Linked DNA regions of Homo sapiens: all the other regions are linked to region 2. Evidence: promoter capture Hi-C in 16 types of primary human blood cells and fetal thymus (Javierre and others, 2016). All regions are on one chromosome and are shown on one strand. The core of a region is centred on a gene start or on the middle of the fragment in contact, and the rest is flanking DNA. Distances in the headings are between cores, read along the strand shown. Region 1 holds the start of H4C12 (H4 clustered histone 12). Region 2 has its middle 1.9 kb from the start of TRA-CGC1-1. Region 3 holds the start of H3C10 (H3 clustered histone 10).

What was found. Contacts are between HindIII fragments. The CHiCAGO score rates a contact against its expected background, and 5 or more counts as called.
Region 1: a contact is called between the fragment with the promoter of H4C12 here and a fragment that was not itself captured in region 2, in 1 of 17 cell types (M0 macrophages). The highest score is 7.5, in M0 macrophages.
Region 3: a contact is called between the fragment with the promoter of H3C10 here and a fragment that was not itself captured in region 2, in 3 of 17 cell types (fetal thymus, total CD8 T cells and M0 macrophages). The highest score is 6.9, in fetal thymus.

Annotation. Positions count from the first base shown.
Region 1 is chr6:27,830,051-27,833,601 of GRCh38, forward strand. It overlaps H4C12 (H4 clustered histone 12), which reads right to left and starts at 1,510. Exons shown (of 1, transcript NM_003541.3): 1 at 1,124-1,510. The coding sequence starts at 1,477. The coding sequence ends at 1,166. RefSeq lists enhancers at 961-1,070, 994-1,819. The HindIII fragment of the contact is 8,845 bases long and covers 1-3,463 here.
Region 2 is chr6:26,550,028-26,553,206 of GRCh38, forward strand. No RefSeq gene overlaps it. Among named protein-coding and RNA genes, the nearest start is that of TRA-CGC1-1, 1.9 kb to the right of the region's middle. RefSeq lists enhancers at 1-63, 323-857, 842-891 and a cis regulatory region at 3,159-3,179. The HindIII fragment of the contact is 963 bases long and covers 945-1,907 here.
Region 3 is chr6:27,808,280-27,811,745 of GRCh38, forward strand. H3C10 (H3 clustered histone 10) reads left to right here and starts at 1,772. Exons shown (of 1, transcript NM_003536.3): 1 at 1,772-2,257. The coding sequence starts at 1,795. The coding sequence ends at 2,205. It overlaps H2AC13 (H2A clustered histone 13), which reads left to right. Exons shown (of 1, transcript NM_003509.3): 1 at 1-388. The coding sequence ends at 323. RefSeq lists enhancers at 38-237, 156-754, 1,438-2,109, 1,726-2,015, 2,110-2,781. The HindIII fragment of the contact is 5,605 bases long and covers 567-3,466 here.

The sequences.
Region 1 (3,551 bases), core at 260-2,759, 1.3 Mb after region 2:
ATTTTTATCTTTCCCTGTGTTCTCACTACCGTTTTATTAATCTCAGTTCTTTTTCACAGGGTAGCACAGAATTTAACTAGCAGAAAGAGATCCAGCCATGTAGACCAGAGATTTGTCTAAGTGACGGCATGTAAGAATCAGGAAGGAAAGTTTTTTGTTTAAATACCAACAGGTTCCTTCCTTAAAGCAATTATTATTTTTCAAATCTAACCCACAAGGTGATAGTATCCTTAAACCAATTAAATCAGAATCTCGGGTTGGATAACCTCAAATATGACTTATTAGCACTTCCCATTAATCACTGGTCCTTCAGGCCTTTAAGTTTACTTACTAGGAATCTCACTTTTAATACCATCTTATCAACTTCAGTTGTAAATAAGAGAACACTCAAAGGCTGAGGAATTCTCAGCGGTAAAGCTCTGCCCACGTTAAGTAACAAAGGATAAGTTAGTCTTTGTTGTGATCACTTTGTTGTACTGATAAGCTACGTATTTCTACTCAAGGATTCAAATTCTCACCTTTCTCAAGAATTGGGCCAAAACCGATAAACTAAACTTATTTACGGTCCACTGATTAAAGGTTGTTGCATAATAAGTTCTTGCTATGTTCAGCAGTTGGATTCACAGCGCCAGAAACCTATAACTGCTTGACTTTCCTCCCCACTACACTGCGAAAATTGCCCCTTAAATGTAACTAACCCTAAAACCTCAACAGTATCGTGGCCAGGCGTGGTGGCTCACTACTGTAATACCAACATTAGGCATAGGCGAGGGGATTGAGGCCAGGATATCGAAACTAGCCTGGGAAACACACGGAGACCCGGTCTTTGGAAAAATAATTAGCCTTGCGTGGTGGTGGGCGCGAGGTTCCGGCTAATCGGGAGGCTACAGTGAGCCATGATGACACTGCACTACAGTCTGCGCGACGGCCCATGTCAGTAAGCTCTGGAGCACCTGAAACAAGTTGTGTTGGGTATTTTATTTACTGGAGAGCGATTAGTGACTGATGCCTACTTACAGCGACTAGAGACGCATGCTCCGATAGCAGCACAAACTCAGCAGGCGCGAACAAATGGTAAAGAGAAACTGGGCAAACAAGCATCACGGCTCCTCAGCTGAGAAAGTGGGGGCCCTAAAAAGGGCCTTTTGTTGATAGAAAGGGACGCTCAACCACCGAAACCGTAGAGGGTGCGGCCCTGGCGCTTGAGCGCGTAGACCACATCCATGGCGGTGACCGTCTTGCGCTTGGCGTGCTCTGTATAGGTCACGGCGTCCCGGATCACGTTCTCCAGGAACACCTTCAGCACCCCGCGAGTCTCCTCGTAGATGAGGCCGGAGATGCGCTTCACGCCGCCGCGGCGAGCAAGGCGCCGGATGGCCGGCTTGGTGATGCCCTGGATATTGTCGCGCAGTACTTTACGGTGGCGCTTAGCGCCGCCTTTGCCAAGACCCTTCCCGCCTTTGCCGCGGCCAGACATGACGAGCAAGAGGAGTCTCACCCAACGCTTTGTGAGGACTCTGGCCTGAGGCAGCGCCTTTATACGACAGTTGGCGGACCGAACTGAGAACCTGAAAGAAGTCGGCGGGAAGTCCCGCCCCGGTGGGGGAGGGGAAATCTAAAGGGCCAAACCGAAATAGGGGGAAAAAAAAAGCGAGCTTCTTGTTTCCGTGTTCTGAATTTTGTAACGTGCATAGTATTTTGTTACCACGTTATGAGGCTTTAAAAAATTGCTTTTGAACGCAGAAGATATACATCAATACTGTGGGAAATACAAGAAAGGACAAGAAATTAAGAAACTACAATGTTATCCCATCACACAGGCTAGTTAATCATGTATTTTGCAGAGCAGTTGCACATATTTTTCCAAGAAAATGTATACAGTGTTGTATATGGAGTTTTGTAACCTCCTTATATTGATTATAATTTAACCAATTTCTATTAAAGAGATAAAAGTGATGTTTTGGTGTCTATGTTTCTTAGGAATTATCAATAGTTATAATCAGTTCCCCAGCAATTTTTTAATCGGCTGTATTTTAAAAATAATGTTTTCCACATTCAACATAAATGTACTTTTTCTCTATACTTGGGACCAATATTGAAATTTATGATTTTATTACACCAAAATTTAAATTTTATTACATTAATATTTAAAATTGTATTAGAGGTCTCATGATTTGGTACTACGGGTCTCCGCATTATTTCCTTTCCAAATTTCCTAATCTGTTTCACCAAGGTTTCTGGACAACTTTAGAGACCTTTTGTGAAGTTTGAATAAAATCTCTTCGAGATTTTGATAATTGCATTAGCTTTAGGACTTAATTGGAATAGAATTAAAATCCTTAAAACAAGCTCTTATAACTAGAAAATTGGTGTTTGTAGGTTTTGTGTGTGGGGTTTTTTTTTTTTTTTGGAAGGAGTCTCGCTCTGTCGTCAGGCCGGAGGGCAGTGGTGCAATCTCGGCTCACTGCAACCTCCACCTCCCGGGTTCAAGCGATTCTCATGCCTCAACCTCCGGATTAGCGCGGACTACAGGCATGCGCCACCACGCCCAGCTAATTTTTTGTATTTTTAGTAAAGAACAAGTTTCACCATGTTGGACAGGATGCTCTTGATCTCTTGACATCGTGATCCGCCCGCCTCAGCCTCCCAAAGTGCTGGGATTACAGGCGTGAGCCGCTTCGCTTGGACGCTTGTAGGTTTTTAAAAAGACACTTTTATATGACCCAACTAAAGATTTGTTATCAACCATTATGGAGCAACTTTGATTCCGTATATTTGATTTTCTTTCTTATTAATAAATACAGGGTTATACTCTGAATTTTTTTTTTTTTTTTTTTTTTTGTGGAGACGGAGTCTCGCCCTTTCGCTCAGGCTGGAGTGCAATGGCCCAATCTTGGCTCACTGCAACCTCCACCTCCCGGGTTCAAGCGATTCTCCCACCTCAGCCTCCCCTGAGTAGCTGGGATTACAGGCACTCACCACCACGCCCGGCTAATTTTTTTGTATCTTTAGTAGAGACGGGGTTTCACCATGTTGGCCAGGCTAGTCTCCAACTCCCGACCTCGTGATCCATATGCCTCGGCCTCCCAATGTGCTGGGATTACAGGCTTGAGCCACTGCGCTCGGCCACTCTGAAATTATTTTAACATCAATGAAAATTATAAAACTCCTATAACTATTCTAATATAATCTCTTAGTATTCAATTCTTTGTTTAGAAAGTAGTTAAGAGTTGAAACTCTGGAAATAGAAAACTTTGGTTTTAGATTAAATGTTTACCTTTCAGACTCGAGCTGACTTGTTACCGATCAGACACGAGGTGACTTGTTTATTCTTTTTAAATCTTTGCTCATCTACAAAGTTAGAATAGGATAGTGACGGTACTGTTGGGGTGCAGAATGATTCCCCAAAATGTGGTTCTTGGGCATGCTGAGCGCTTTTGAACATTGAAAGGCCTCAGAAATAAGCTTCAGAATCAAAGCCCCTCTAACTTCGTCTTCTTTCCCATACATGCGAAGGGACTCTGACATTTCCTAATCGGACCAAGAAAATT
Region 2 (3,179 bases), core at 176-2,675:
CGCGGAGGAAAGTGTCCACCCTAGATACATACCTGTAAGTATGGGGAGATGTGCTCTGCTACAAGGGTCTGTGATAAAGGATTAATTTTCTTATTATATTTTGTAAGAATCGATATTATTATCTTTAAAGCAAAATTTGGAATGCCTTTGTTCTCCAGATATGGGGACATCTAGACACTCCCAAGTCTGGGTCTGTTTAGTAAACATTATTAATTTGTTCCCTTAACCATAAACATCTAGAGGCTAGGAATGCCTGACTTTCTGGGAATGCAGCCCAGCAAAAGTCCCGGCCTCGTTTTCCTAGCCCTCACTCAAAATGGAGTCGCTCTGGTTCGAATGCCTCTCACAGAAATCCCGCTAAAATGTACCTCCCTCGGTTGCGGTGAGCCGTGATCGTGCCACTGCACTCCAGCCTGGGAGATAGAGTGAGAACTCCGTCTCAAAAAAAAAAAAAAAAAATACCTCCTTCTTCTCTCAAAACTCTCCAATGGCTTCCACCCTGGGTCATCAACATGGCCTGGAAGAGCCGTACTCTGGATACCCGAGGGCGCGGCCCCAGCGCCGCGACGCCCCGCCCCTCTGGCTGCTCCGCTCTGGGATGCACTTCCGACGCCCTCTAGGCTTGGGAGTTCCGCGCCTCTCGGTGTCGCCTGGGGGGCGTGCTCCGGTTGGCGCACTGATTCCCAGTTGGGTAGGGGAGGCTTGACTGAGCTCCCACCCGGAATTTCACCTTAGACCTTTAAAGACCTTGCTCCGGCCTCCCGCGCCAGCGCTAACACCTAGTCCTCTTTAGTGGAGTTCCGGCGGAAGGGGATGGCGGGCACCCGACGGTGGTCTCCTCCCAGATGGCGAATTTCCGCGGCTTCTTCATCTTTTAGCTCCCAGGGAGCCCTCTGGCCCCAGCATGAAGCCCATGGAGCCCTTTTCAAAATTGTATTTTTAAAAGCTTTTAAAAAATACACAGGATTTTAAAGAAAGCCAATTGTACTACAAAACAGTTTTCAAACGATTAAAATAATTTCATAGAGTAATGTGTGCTTCTCATTAATGCATTAAATATTAAACATCAAGACCCGTCTTATGACTGCTGTAATTTTCAAACAGTTGTCTTGGGTATTTGTAACAACTGTATTGTGATACAAAAATATGTGATTTTTCTTTTCTTTTTTTTTAGACAGAGTCTCCCTCTGTCGCCTAGGCTGGAGTGCAGTGGCGTGGTCTCTGCTCACTGCAAGCTCCGCCTCCCGGGTTCACGCCATTCTCCTGCCTCAGCCTCCCGAGTAGCTGGGACTACAGGTGCCCGCCACCAATTTTGTTTTTGTATTTTTAGTAGAGACGGGGTTTCACCGTATTAGCCAGGATGGTCTTGATCTCCTGACCTGGTGATCCGCCCGCCTCGGCCTCCCAAAGTGCTGGAATTACAGGCATGAGCCACCACCCCCGGCCAAAAATATGTGATTTTTCTTGATGACAGAGTCGTAGTTACTTCTCTTTCAATTGTGGTTTGTTACCTGTATTAGTAAGTGAAAGATATGTTAAATTTCAGTTAGAATAGACTAGAATCAGAAATAATCAGAATGCAGTGTGTGTGTTAAGAGTAAGGAATAGTTCATGCAACTTTTGTTTCTGTTACATATGTATGACTGAATTACGATGTAAACTAAACTAAATTGTAGGTCACCACCAAAAAAATGAAAGCTACTGCCACTAGGCCCAAGTTCTGGGTGAAGAACCACGTCTGTTTACCTGGGCAACCCCATGGATCAGGAAAGCAGGGGATCAGAAAGGAGCACGCTAATAGAGAAAAGAGGGAGCCTGTGCATTTTTGTTGCTTTTCAAGAAAGAGTTTAACCTTTAACAACTTGTAGCCATTGTTATTGCAACTTTTACTCCTATTGCAGATGAAAAGCTTTGTGCGCTGTGGCTCCCTTTCCAAAAGGCCCATCTATTTTCTAAACAGCTCCTAGGTTATGAGACCTATGGTCAGCTCAAGAGTCCTTCATTTATTCGGGGATATCAGCCCGTGACTTGACCTTAACCTTCCTCTCTCTAACTGCAGTAACCTCTCCCGCCTTGTCCATAGTTTCCCTTCCGCTGTCTCAGTTACCCCCTTCAACCGTGGTCCAAAAATATTAAATGAAAATTCCAGAAATAAAAAATTCATAAGTTTCAAATAACTCCCCTTTCTCAGTAGCGTCATGAAATCTCCCACCCGCCCGAGGATCATCCCTTTGTCCAGACTATCCACGCGGTATGCGCTCCCCACATCTTAGTCACTTAGTATTCATCCTGGTTATCAGATCGAAAAAACATAGTATACTATGGTACTATCCGAGGTTTCAGGCATTCACTGTGTGTCTTGGAACATATCTCCTGCTGATAAGGAAAGAATACTGTACGTATTGGGTTAAAAATGAAGAAATGGAAATAAAAAAGGAGAAATACAGCGACACCTGAACAGGGACTTGAAACCTGGTTCCTCAGATTAAAAGTCCATGGCCATACTGACTGAGCTACCAAGCTTCATACAAAATGTCCAAACTGCATCAACCCTGGTTTATTAATCTATGTATCTGACCTAGAAGGTGATTTTAGAAGGTTCAGCTGCGATTTTAATAAGGACCTGGTAATTTAGAAATTCTTGCTAATAACAGCACAGAAGCTCAGCCATAACGAGGGTCCGTTTTAAGACCGAGGTCTAACCATATTACAAATCCATACTAACATCCCCCCAAAATTCTATCTATCTATCTATCTATCTATCTATCTATCTATCTATCATCTATCTATCTATCTACCCACCTACCCATCTACCTATCTTTCTACACGCATATATATGTATTCATATAATCCAGTCCAGTCAAGGACTAACAGAATGCTCGCCTTCAGTTCCTAGGCTTCCCAGATAAATATCTCAAATCCTCTCTCTAAACTTGGGCCCAAACAAAACATTTTCAAAAGTAACCTGATCTGACGCTGGTGCACATAAAGGGGAGTAATTGAATCACCTTTTCGGCGACGGACTTAGGGAAGCTGTTGTGAGACGAAAGATAGAGAAAACTGATTTAGCAGTTCTTGGTTTCACCTGCCTTGGTTTTCCTTAAAAAAGGAAAAATAAATTAAAGAAGTTTGTGAAGAAGCGTCCTCACTCTCCTTTTTCTTGTCAGATTTCCAGGTAG
Region 3 (3,466 bases), core at 522-3,021, 1.3 Mb after region 2:
TTCAGTTTCCCGTAGGCCGAGTGCATCGCCTGCTCCGCAAAGGCAACTATGCGGAGCGGGTCGGTGCTGGAGCGCCGGTGTACCTGGCGGCGGTGCTGGAGTACCTGACCGCCGAGATCCTGGAGCTGGCTGGCAACGCGGCCCGCGACAACAAGAAGACTCGCATCATCCCGCGTCACCTCCAGCTGGCCATCCGCAACGATGAGGAGCTCAACAAGCTTCTGGGCAAAGTCACCATCGCACAGGGTGGCGTCCTGCCCAACATCCAGGCCGTGCTACTGCCCAAGAAGACCGAGAGCCACCACAAGGCGAAGGGCAAGTAGAAGCCTGGATTAGTTTGCAGCAACTCAATCCCAAAGGAACCAAAGGCTCTTTTCAGAGCCACCTACAATTTTGTGGAAGAACTGAGCACTATGTTTAATGTAATTTCTCGTCTTTGCCTACTTCTAAACCACTCCAAAGGTTACGTAGATCAGTCTTCGGTGTCTTGGTTAGGTAGTGACAATCTCGTTAGCTTTATAAAAAGCCTGGATAACATTAAAAGTATTAAACACGCCTTCATCTTAAGCTTAGTGGAAGAAAATTTAGTTTTTCCTAAGCTGGCATTATCCAAGTATGTTGAATTCTGTATGGTTCACCGTCGGGTTTTACTTTTAGTCTGTTGAAGCAAACATGTCTGCTTTGGGGCCAGATGTTTTCTGGGTCTTGGTAAATAACAAACCGGGCATTCGACGTTCAATCCAAATCTAGATCAACGACTTGGATTCTTCATTTCTGAGAAATATCTCTCGAATCTGTATAATTAATTGCATTTGAACATTAATGATTGAGTTGAGAATAATTATTAGACTAATTAGAACAGTTACTTATGGTGCCAGGTAGTTCTCTTTGAAGCATTTTCTGAAAATTCATTGAAATTAAAATTTCCCGAGCTTTCCCACCCCCAGCCACACAAATTGATTTCTTAGTACAGAGATGACTTAATTTGTTTCAGCATGGTAAATTCCACTTTTAAAATATCTGACTTGATGTTTTTAATCTGAATCAGATCTGGATGTACGAATGGAATAGATTCTTAAAAGAAAATGAATTACATTTCTAGAGTATTGGAAAAATAAGCTGCAATGGAATTACTTTAATCTAAAAGTGAAAAGTTCACATAAAGTTGTTTCTTTGACATTTTTTGGCCTTGAATTTCTCACATGCGAACCAGCTTTTCTTGGTTATAAAAATAGAAGTTTTTTAAATTTAAGTGGTCAAAAGATAGAAAATTGAGGGGACAGGTGTATAAGGCTGTCCTGTCCAGTATTGCAGCCACTAGCCAATTGTGGATAGTGATCATTGGAAATTCCATAGCATGAATTTTATATAAAATACACATTGCATTTGGAAAAGTCAGTGCCAAAAAGTGTAAAATACCTAACAATTTTAATTTCGATAACATTGAAATATGTTGGCTATATTGGATTAAGCAAAATATTAAAAATTAATTTTTCCTTGTTTTGTTACAATGTTCTCCTAGATAAGTGTAAATTACTTATATTGCTCTCATTTCCACTGGAAATCGCTAGTATAGTGAACAACTGTATAGCGAAAATAGAAAATAAAATATGGAGACCATGAACTGCTAAGTCTGTCAGAGGAATAGGTGAACAACAAAAATTTGAGTCCTTCGCCAATCCGGTTACTGTTGGGTAGGCCTTCAGCATACTTTTGTCCAATCAGCTTCAGACTCTCACTATAAATAAGCGGCTAGCTTTCTCTTTCTCCTGAAGTGAATCTAGCTCTGAAGGCATGGCGCGTACGAAGCAGACTGCTCGCAAGTCCACCGGCGGCAAGGCTCCGCGCAAGCAGCTGGCCACCAAGGCGGCTCGGAAGAGCGCTCCGGCCACCGGCGGTGTCAAGAAGCCCCATCGCTATCGGCCTGGTACAGTGGCTCTCCGCGAGATTCGCCGCTACCAGAAGTCCACCGAGCTGCTGATCAGAAAGCTGCCTTTTCAGCGTCTGGTGCGTGAGATCGCGCAGGACTTCAAGACCGACTTGCGCTTCCAGAGCTCCGCGGTGATGGCGCTGCAAGAGGCATGCGAGGCCTACCTGGTGGGGCTCTTTGAGGACACCAACCTGTGCGCCATCCACGCCAAGCGGGTGACTATCATGCCCAAGGACATCCAGCTCGCACGTCGTATCCGCGGCGAGAGGGCTTGAGTCTCAAGGACTCACTGATTACATACCCAAAGGCTCTTTTCAGAGCCACCCACATGCGCGCTGAAAAGATCTGTTTCTCTCAGGAATTCTTCCTGGTACTTGTTTTGCCTGTAGTAGATAGGGCCCATTTCCAGACGTTATACAATCTGTTTCGTAAGACTCAGCCTATCCCTTTTTGAATGCTAATTTTGGGAGTCTTAACATCTAATAATGTCCGGCATTTTTCCGTAAGCATTGAGTGTAGCCAAAAGTTCCTTCGTGTATTGCTCTCCCATCTCCGCAGCCCGGTTTTGACCGGATGGTGCTTCTAATTTTCTGCTAACCTGTACTGTGGTGTGTGTATATTTCTTGCCAACACGCCAGAAATAAAACTAAGGTTGTACTGAAGTTGGAAAAATTCAGGTTAATGTAGCTCATGCTGGCTAAAGTGAAACGTTCTCTCCCCGCCCCCCGTTCCTAAGCAGTGTTAAGTTTTCTTTGAATTTTTTCAAGCCGGATTTTGGGCCTGCTTAAACCACTTAAATGTAGTTAATGACAGATGGTTTGAGGTTTAAAAGTCTTCTGGAGAAAGCCCGCCAGAGAACATTCCCTTTGAAGCCCCATGTAAAAATACGTGTGGGAGAGAAAGTGTTTTCTCTGACTTCTGCTGACAGTGGCTAAAACTCTGAACTGTCAGGAGTATTCAAAATAAGACTGCCTTGTAGGTAAGCCTGTGGTAGTTTTTTTGAGCACAGGATAAAATACTTGAGTCTTTGCTTAAATGTTACTTTCTCAATGAGGCTTTGTATGACTAAATAAAATCTGTATAATCCCCACCTATTTTTTTCACCCTAGAATTTGTCACTATATGCTGTACCAGAGTTTGCTGATGTATTGCTTGTGTGTTCTAAAATACAGGCTCATGAGAGGAGGAACTTTTGTTTACTCGCATATCTCCAGTAACGTAGGAGCTTTTGATCAGTATTTGTTGGATAAATGAATGAATGCATGGGTATATAATAGTAAGGAGACATACCCACATGGAAAATCTCAAATGAAAGAAATACATCAGCTTGGTAGATATGCTCAAATCAGCTTCTTGTGGGCCAGGAAAGCCCTTACCTCATCCATTCTTGTATTCAGAATGCTAGATTTCTATAACTTCTTCTGTGAGCTCTCTAGCATTCTTATAAGTATTCAAGATTTTCCCTGGCAAATTGGCTTGTGTATGTGTGTTATCATCTCTGTCTCTCCTTAGCTTAACCTGTGAAGGATGTAAGTG